2 separate regions of the Homo sapiens genome follow, and region 2 is linked to region 1. The links are contacts of gene promoters, found by promoter capture Hi-C in blood cells and fetal thymus (Javierre and others, 2016). All regions are on one chromosome and are shown on one strand. Each heading gives the region's core, a stretch centred on a gene start or on the middle of the fragment in contact. The rest is flanking DNA. Distances are from core to core; before and after follow the strand shown. Region 1 holds the start of KIAA2012. Region 2 overlaps KIAA2012.

Region 1 (4,586 bases), core at 1,020-3,519:
CAACCGGAAAAAAATTTTAATTGTAGTAAAATATATGTAACATAAATTTACTTTCGTTTTAGAGATGAGATCTCACATTGTCACTAAGGCTGAACTCAAACTCACGGGCCCAAGGGATCTTCTTGCCTCAGCCTCCGGAGTAGCTGGGATGACAGGTGTGTGCCACTGCACTGGCTCAAATGGACCATTTTAACATTTTTAAGTTTACAGTTCATTGACATTAAGTACATTCATATTGTTGTGAATCCACCTTCAGAACTTTTTCATCTTCTCATACTGAAACTCTGTACCCACTATACACTGATGTTCCATTCCCCTCTCCCTGACAGCCCCTGTCAATTACCATTCAACTTTCTGTCTCTGTGAATCAGACCACTCTAAGTACTTCACATAAGAGAAATCATACAATGTTTGTTCTTTCATGATTGGCTTATCTTGTTTAGTGTAATGTCTTCAAGGTACATGCGTGTTGTAGCATATGTCTGAATTTCCTTCCTTTTTTTTTTTTTTTTTTTTTTTTGAGATGGAGTCTCACTCTGTTGCCCAGGCTGGAGTACAGTGGCATGATCTCGGCTCACTGCAACCTCCGCTTCCCAGGTTGAAGCGGTTCTCCTGCCTCAGCCTCCCAAGTAGCTGGGACTACAGGCGTGTGCCACCACACCTGGCTAAATTTTTATTTTTAGTACAGACGGGGTTTCATCAAGTTGGCCAGGCTGGTTTCGAACTCCTGACCTCAGGTGATCCGCCCACCTCGGCCTCCCAAAGTGCTGGGATTACAGGCATGAGCCATGGTGACCAACTGAATTTCCTTCCTTCTTAAGGCTGAATAATACTGCATTGTATGCATATGCTACATTTTGTTGATTCATTCATCTGTCGATGGACACTTGAGTTACTTCCACCTTTTGGCTCTTATAAACAGTTTTGCTCTGCATATGAGTATACAAATATCTCTTTGAGACCCTGCTTTCACCTCCTTTAGGTATACAGACCCAGAAGTGGAATTACTGGTGATACGGTAATTCTGTTTAATTTTCTTAGAAACTGTCATACCATTTCCTACAGAGGCTGCGCCATTTTGCATTTCCAACAGCAATGCACAAGGTTTTCAATTTCTCCGTATCTTCACCAAATACTTGTTATTTTCTGTTTTTGTTTTTGTTTTTTAATAATAGCCATCTTAGTAGGTGTGAAGTGGTATCTCATTGTGGTTTTGATTAAATTCTGTTTGGAGCCTCTGCATTCACTCATTCGCTGTCTTGATTCCCCCTAATAAACCCTATTTTATTTTACAACAGAACCTCTATTTCTTTCTCAGGAGACTTGAACTTGGTTGGGGGTGGAGGGGTCAGAGGGGGAGGGGAAAGTGCCACATAGGAAGATCAAAAAGGTAAGTGGGCTTGTAGCCTGTTGTGCTTCTTCATATAGGCCAGCAGTGGGCACTCCCACAAGACTGCCAGGGTAGTTCAGCTGACAGCTAACAGGCAGCTTGCTTTTCCAGGCTTGAGCAGGTTCCTAGATCCCCAGCAAAGGGGTCTTTTTGTTTCCTGACCCTCTTCCCTCCTGTCTGTGCTCGTCACAATGTCACTGTTAAAGAGACCCAAGCATCCCAGGCTACACAGTGCTTCTCAAAGCAGGTGCTCCTGGCATTCTAGTGGGACAGTTCATCACTATGTGGGAATTTCACACCATGTAGAACATTTAGCATCTGGGGCCTCTGCTTGATCAATGCCAGCAAGACCCCCAATCATTGCAACAACCAAAATGTCCCCCACCCACATTTCCAGAGCACCCCCATCAGGGGATAGCTTGCCCAGTTGAGAACCAGGTATGCAAAGGAAGCTAGAGAATCCCAGTGTCTCCCGCTCAGGCAAAGCAGCAACTACCATAATGAGGTCTCGTGTCCAGTTGAGGGGATGATGGAGCTCAGCCAAGGAAAAAGTCACAGGTGGTTTTAGGTGACCTAGATTACACCCTGGCTCTGTTAATGGTTAGTTGACAGTGACAGGCTCACATATCAGGAGAGAGGGGAAGACGCTCTCTAAAAACAAGATGAGAACAATAACAGAAAAAGTACCCCAACAAGTCCCCCACCCCATGCAACTGGGACTTGCAACCTGAGCCTGGTCCCTTCAGTGTCCATTTGACCCCCACCCCCATCCCCGGGGAATGCACACTGCACCCGGCACCCGTCTCTGCCTTGCCTGGGTTAGTTTAAGGGACTTCATTTCCCTGTGCTGCCATAGCAACCAGGAAACAACCTCCGCTCAGACAAGAAGGATGGTGCTGTGGCCGAGATCTGTAGATGCACACGGCTGGTAACAGAGCAACCGGGACCAAGGGACAACAAGAGCTCAGGAGAAGGGGAGAGACAGGTCGCCCAGAGAGTAGACAATCCAGGGCTTGAGGAGGCTGGCTGTGCGGTTTATTTTTTCTCTCCACAAAGACACACACTGTCTAAACTGTGTGGCTGGTTGTTACTAAGAAGCTGCTGCGAGAGGGAAAAATGTATTTAATAAAAGGCCCTGTGTTTGTGGTCTTCTTGGGCTTGCTGTGAGCTCTGGAAATCTTGAGGTGTGACCAGATTTCAGCCTTCAAAACCAAGATGGACTGCCCTTGAGAAGGGGTGGTCAGAGGGAAACATGTTCACGCTCTCCCTCCTGAGCCGGGGCCACGGGAAGCTGGGCCAGGACAAACAGAAGTTAGAAGTCTACTTTGAACCAGAGGTGAGTCCCACAGCTGAAGAAAGGCACATTTTGGAGGTGGGAGAGGAATGCTCTATGTTTCCACTTGGGAGGTAAACCATGTGTGTCTTGGTTTGTGTTGTTAGTGAGGTGGCGGGGTCACTGGAAGATCTTCCTTCCTCCTTCATGAAACTCAAGAAAATAACATCATTTTCCTGACACACCGAGATTGCCCCTGAGGCCCTCATCTTTCCCCTTGTAGCTGTCTTTGCTTGGACCAAAGGAGATTCCAGATTGTCTGGAATTTGGATGGTTTGGTGCAAGACCAGAATTTCCACCTGGGTTCTAGGCAAACTGATGGTTGTTTGGTTTTTGGAAGTCGTGCTCTGCAGTTGAAATGCTGTGTGTGTTCATGCCATTTCAATGGCTTCCTTGAACTTTCTGGAATTCAACCCACAGGACTCATATTTAATATAGGCCAAAAAAAAACCCACCTCATTTTAGAAGATTTTAAAGAGGTGGCAAAATTCCCTTGTTATACTAGATTTTTATTTCACTTGAATCCTGCCAGGGATAAGAAACCTATTGGGGATACTTTGCAAATTTGGGGGTCATACAGAGATTTCCATTGTCATGGTACTTTGTCATGATATTTGACCTTTGCTGTGTTAAACGGCATATAAAGTTTCAAAGGACCTGTATGGCCAATGGCATTTTCTTACCTACAAGATATGTAACTGCTTTATAGGCCCCTAAATAGCCAAATTAGGTAATGTTACATAGCATCTGGAATGTATAGAAATTCTCCCCACGTACAGCTGAAGTGGTGGTGGCTTGGAATGCTCCTATTTAAACTGCCAGCTAGTCCAGGTCTAATTTCAAAGTTATCTGCTGCCCTTAATAATTCTGACCACTTACTTGCATACCAGGAAACTTTAACTGGCCTGTAACCTACATACAAGCTGAGTTAATCCTCCAGCCATACATGACTCTCCTGAAAGTTGTATGGGGTGAAATAGAACCATGCCCTGGGTTCTACTAATTTTGAAATGTGGAGAGAAAAGGCAGTTGCTAAGAAGAGCAATTGTGTTCCATAACACCATGTGAACAGTTCAGAGAAAATCAGTAACTAAAAAAATGCCGAAGGCTTTGCACAAGCAGTATTTGCTATAGAAAGGTCTTCCACAGTGGCTCCGTCAAAGTGGCTGCTTCTCATTGCAGGATTACTTGAACTGGAGGTCCCCAGAAGACTATGTTCCTGTCAGCAAACCTCAAGATAAGAACAATGCCAGTCAGCACTCCTGGAGCCTCTTTCTCCCTAAAACTTTCAGTACTAGAAAGGGTGCCCTGATCCTGTACTCAGAAGGTTTTGCCATTTCGGCATGGACACCCAAAGAGAGGAGAAAAGGCCCCTACTGCCCCAGAGGTCCCTGGAGGAAGCTGGATCTTGAACTGCACACACTTCAAGACCTCAAAGAAGCCATCCTGGCATATGGAAGGCAGCAGGTAGGCAGAACGCTCCCTTGGGTTTGGGGAAGGTGCTGGTAGCATGTCTAGAAACCCAGTTGCAGCTTTGGGAATAATTTCTTGGACCCGGGGAAGGTATGAAACTCTCAGAACTCTATTTCTTCATCTCTAAAATGAGATTGACTGTACTCTTAGCCCTATCTGCTGCACACCATTGTCACAAAGCTTAAATGAGATAATGTATGTGAAAGGGATCTGAAAACCATAAAGGGCTACATTATCATCATTTTATGTTTTCCTTTCAGTTAGAGTAACACAAAGTCCTTTTCAGCATTCAGACAGATTCAGGCCAGCAGACGTTTCATCAGGATCCTTGAAATCCTGTCTCATAGCCACAAGCATCATCATCCCACCTCTGATGTTCTTGGCTCTGTG
Region 2 (4,586 bases), core at 1,010-3,509, 100 kb after region 1:
TCAATACACAGAAATCAATTGTGTAAAAAATAGTGTTTGAAAACATAAAGCACAATTTAAAAATAGAATTTAAAAGGAATTGTTATTATGGAAAACTGCAAACATACACAGAAGTGAACAGAGCAGCACAGTGAATCCCATATACCCATCTCTTGGCCAGTGTTGTTCACCTGTATCTCCAACTCCTTTCTCTCTCCCATGTTATTTTGAAACAAATTTTAGGCTCATATCATTTTATTCATATATACTTGAGAACATATCTCTCAAAGATGAGAAATGACTTTTTTTATTATTATTATACTTTAAGTTTTAGGGTACATGTGCACAATGTGCAGGTTAGTTACATATGTATACATGTGCCATGCTGGTGCGCTGCACCGAGAAATGACTTTTAACATAATCATGATACCATTATTACACCCAAAATTTAAATAATTCTTTAATATAATTGAATATTCAGTCAGTTTTCAAAGTTCAAATTGTCCCATAATTATTATAATTGTTTTGGAATTTGCAAACCAACTGTTTACAATTGGTTGATATGACCTTTAAATCTCATTGAATTTATAAGTTCCCTTCCATTTCTTTTTTTTCCCCCTTTTAGTGTATTTGTAGGAAATTGGGTCACTTGTCTTGTTGAGTTTCAATCTAGACTTTGCTGATTGCGTCCTCATAGTGTAGTTTAACATGTTTCTCTGTCTTCCACATGTCCTGTAAGTTAACACTTGGGTCTAGAAACTTGATCAGATTCCGGTTTGGTTTGGTTTTTCCTTTTGGCAGTCTATAAATTCAGTGCAATTTCAATTTTAAAAATCCCCAACAGGGTTTTTGGCAGAACATGATTAGCTGATATTAAAATTCATATAGAAAAGCCAGAAATAGTTGTCATGGTCTGAATGTTTGTGTCCCCCAAAAATTCACATGCTGAAACCTCATCACCAATGTAAAGGTATTTGGAGGTTGGGCCTCTGGGAGGTGATTAAGTCATGAGGGCAGAGCCCTCATAAATGAGATTAGTGCCTTTACAAAAGAGGCCCCAGAGAGCTATCTTGCCCCTTTTATCATGTGAGGACACAAAAGAAGGTGCCCTCCATGAACCAGAAAGTGAGACTTCCCCAGACACTGAATGTCCCCAGACACTGAATGTTCCAGCACCTTGATCTTGAACTTTCCAGCCTCTAGACCCACAAGAAATAAATTTCTGTTGTTTCTAAGCTACCCAGTTTATGGTATTTTGTTATAGCAGCCTGAACAGACTAAGATATTAGCCAGTATAATTTTGAAAAAAAATAAAGTGGAAGTTTGCCCTGACAAATATAAAAACTTATTTTAAAGCTGTAAAAAATAAAACTGTGTGCTATTGGCTTAGAGACAGACAGAAGAGAATAGAGAATCCAGAAATAAATGTGCCCACATATGGAAACTTGATATATGGCAATGGCATTATAAAGGGAAATAGTGGAGAAAGGATGATCTATTATTCACTATATAATTTTGAGACAACTGGTTATGCAATTTTAAAATTCTCACCTCACAAAATATCAGGTGTATTCAGGAGCTTAATGTCAAAAAGCAAAATTTAACTTTTAGAGGAAAATATAGCAGAATATTTTTATGAATTTTGGAAAGGAAAAAACTTTTTACCTATTATTCATAACACAAACCATAAAGAAAATTATTGATAAATCTTTTTTTTTTTTTTGGGACGGAGTCTCGCTCTATTGCCCAGAAAGTGCAATGGCATGATCTTGGCTCACTGCAACCTCTGTCCCCTGGGTTCAAGCGATTCTGCTGCCTCAGCCTTCCAAGTAGCTGGGATTACAGGTGTGTGCCACCAGGCCCGGCTAATTTTTGTATTTTTAGTAGAGACAGGGTTTCACCATGTTGGCCAGGCTGGTCTCAAATTCCTGAACTCAAGTGATCAGCCTGCCTTGGCCTCCCAAAGTGCTGGGATTACAGGTGTGAGCCACTGTGCCCCGCCAATGAATCTGACTATATTAAAGTTTGAAGTTTTCAACAAGACAACATGAAGTTAAAAGCCAAATTGCAGATTAGAAGGAGATACCTGCAATGCATGTAACCAACAAAGCATTAGTAACCAAAATGCAGCAGCATTTCTTCCCTCTACAAATAGGGAAAGAAAAAGACAATCAACCCAAAGGAAAAATGAGCAAATGATGTGAACAGGCAACTAACAGAAGAAGAAACACAAATAAATGGCCATAGAGAAAAAAAAGTTCTCCTTACTAATCAGGAAAATCCCAGTTAAAACAAAAAGATATCATTTCATATATATCAGACCAGCAAAAGTTTAAAAGTCTATAAACACTATTAATGAGGATATAAAGTTTTAGTAATTTAGAGCAATTTGAAAATATTCAATAAATTGAAGATGCATATATCCTGCATCCCAACAAGTTCATTCCCAGGTATCCTTTAGAGAAAGCATGTATGAACAGTGACTCACCTAAAAAGGTTCATTGAAACATTATTAATAATCATAAACAATTGGAAATAATCAAAATGGCCACCAATAGTAAAATGGATTTTTAAATGGTCACATATTTATACAACGGAATACTATATGATAGCTGAAAATAAAATTACATGTATTAATATGGGTTAATCCCAAAAGACTTATTAAGGGTTTTTTGCCTTATTAAGCAAAATAAGGCAAGTTGAACAAGTTACATAAATAATATCATTTATGTAAAGTTTTAATTTGTAAAAAATACTATATATTGTTTACATGTGCATGTATATGTAATACAGATATAAAAATATATATGAGGATTGATGAATATCAAATTGAAGAGACTGATTACCTCTGGGAGGGAGAGGGAAATGGGATTATATGTGTCTTAATCCATTTTGTGATGCTATAACAGAATGCCTGAGATTGGGTAATTTATGAAGAACAGAACAGTCTCCCACAGTTCTGGAGGCTGAGAAGCCCAAGATCAAGATGCAGGTTTCTTACTGTGTCCTCACGTGGTGGGAGGCAAAAAGGCAAAAGAGAGGGAACTCATTCCCACAAGCCCTTTTTCTTTTTTTAGAGATGGGGTCTCTCTATGTTGCCCAGGCTCAACCTGAATTCCTGGACTCACACTATCCACAGCCTCAGTGTCCCGAGTAGCTGAGACTACAGGTGTGCATCACTGTGCCCAGCCCACAAACCCTTTTTATAGCAGCATTAATCCATTCATGAGGATGGAGCCCTCCATGACCTAAACACTTTTTATTAAGCCCCACCTCCCAACACTGCTGCATTGAATATTGATTGAGTTTCCAACACACAAATTTTGAAGGAGACGATAACATTCACACCATAGTAGCATGTGATAAATGAAGTCTTGGACTGTGTCTTAAATGTTTGATTTCTTTAGAAAATGCATGACTTAGGCTGGGCACAGTGGCTCATGCCTGTAATCCCAGCACTTTGGGAGGCCAAGGCAGGCAGATCACTTGAGTTCAGGAATTTGAGACCAGCCTGGCCAACATGGTGAAACCCTGTCTGTAGTAAAAATACAAAAATAAGCTGAGCATGGTGGCGTACACCTGTAATCCCAGCTACTTGGGAGGCTGAGGCAGGAGAATTGCTTGAACCTAGGAGGTGGAGGTTGCAGTGAGCTGAGATGGTGCCATTGCACTCCATCCTGGGCAACAGAGTGAGACTCTGTCTCAGAAAAAGAAAGAAAGAAAGAAAGAAATGCATGACTCAAATATGGCAAAATGTTAAAATTTTACAAAACTAAGTGGCAATGAGTATACAGTATTTTTCCTATACTGTGAACGCTTAAGATATTTTATAGACTTTTAAAAAGTACTTAAAAGTTGTAAGTTATTCAAAGCACTGACTTCGTTTGTTCCAATACTTCCTAAATATCAGGTTATTTTACTAAGAGAAAAAAAAAATCACCCTTCTATGGCCCACATCCCAAAACTGGGAAGGTTTCAATTCTAATCACAATGGAAGTTTCACCAATGTACAACCTCAGCTTTTGGTCAATACAAATACGCCCTCTGCTGGTTCTATCATGCCCTGTCCCAGAGTTCAAAATAGTTGAGAAGAGCAGTGAAAGTCTTCAGTGAGAGTTTTTTCGCGCCAGTCATGTTAAGGAAAGAAATACTCACAGAACTACCCTTTGGCACCAAGATACTTTAATCAGCTTCTGCTCTCTGTTAATGTTACATATTATCCAAGACAAAATAAATTCCAAGGTGCAGCCCCAGTCAACCTTTCCAATTCCTCAACCACCTTTGCGCGTTAACAATCTTGTGCCCCTCTAAAGTCTGGTGGTTGATTTGAGAGACAGTGGACACCTCCCTGAACCTGAGTAGAAGTAGAAGAAAACCAAAGTTGCAAAGAAGCTCCTGGGCGGGGAAACCACAAAATAACATTGAAAAACAGATTAACTGTAGTATTAAGGGAATGATGCCAATGGAATAATGGGTGAACTTTTTCTTTTCAAATCTTTCTTTAAAAGTATAACATCTTCAAATAAAACTGAGAAGAAATAAATTAATTCATGCAAGAATCTACTTCTCAAGAGAGAAAGGCACTAATTGAATATTAGAGTCTTCCT

What was found. The method cuts DNA at HindIII sites, captures the fragments that hold promoters and counts their contacts. A CHiCAGO score of 5 or more calls a contact.
Region 2: a fragment that was not itself captured here is called in contact with the fragment with the promoter of KIAA2012 in region 1 in 1 of 17 cell types (M2 macrophages); the score reaches 5.4 in M2 macrophages.

The regions. Positions count from the first base shown.
Region 1 is chr2:202,070,986-202,075,571 of GRCh38, forward strand. It overlaps KIAA2012, which reads left to right and starts at 2,270. Exons shown (of 24, transcript NM_001277372.4): 1 at 2,270-2,726; 2 at 3,906-4,190. The coding sequence starts at 2,643. The HindIII fragment of the contact is 5,257 bases long and covers 1-4,374 here.
Region 2 is chr2:202,174,516-202,179,101 of GRCh38, forward strand. All of the region lies in intron 15 of KIAA2012, which reads left to right. Among named protein-coding and RNA genes, the nearest start is that of KIAA2012-AS1, 60 kb to the left of the region's middle. The HindIII fragment of the contact is 6,218 bases long and covers 1-4,586 here.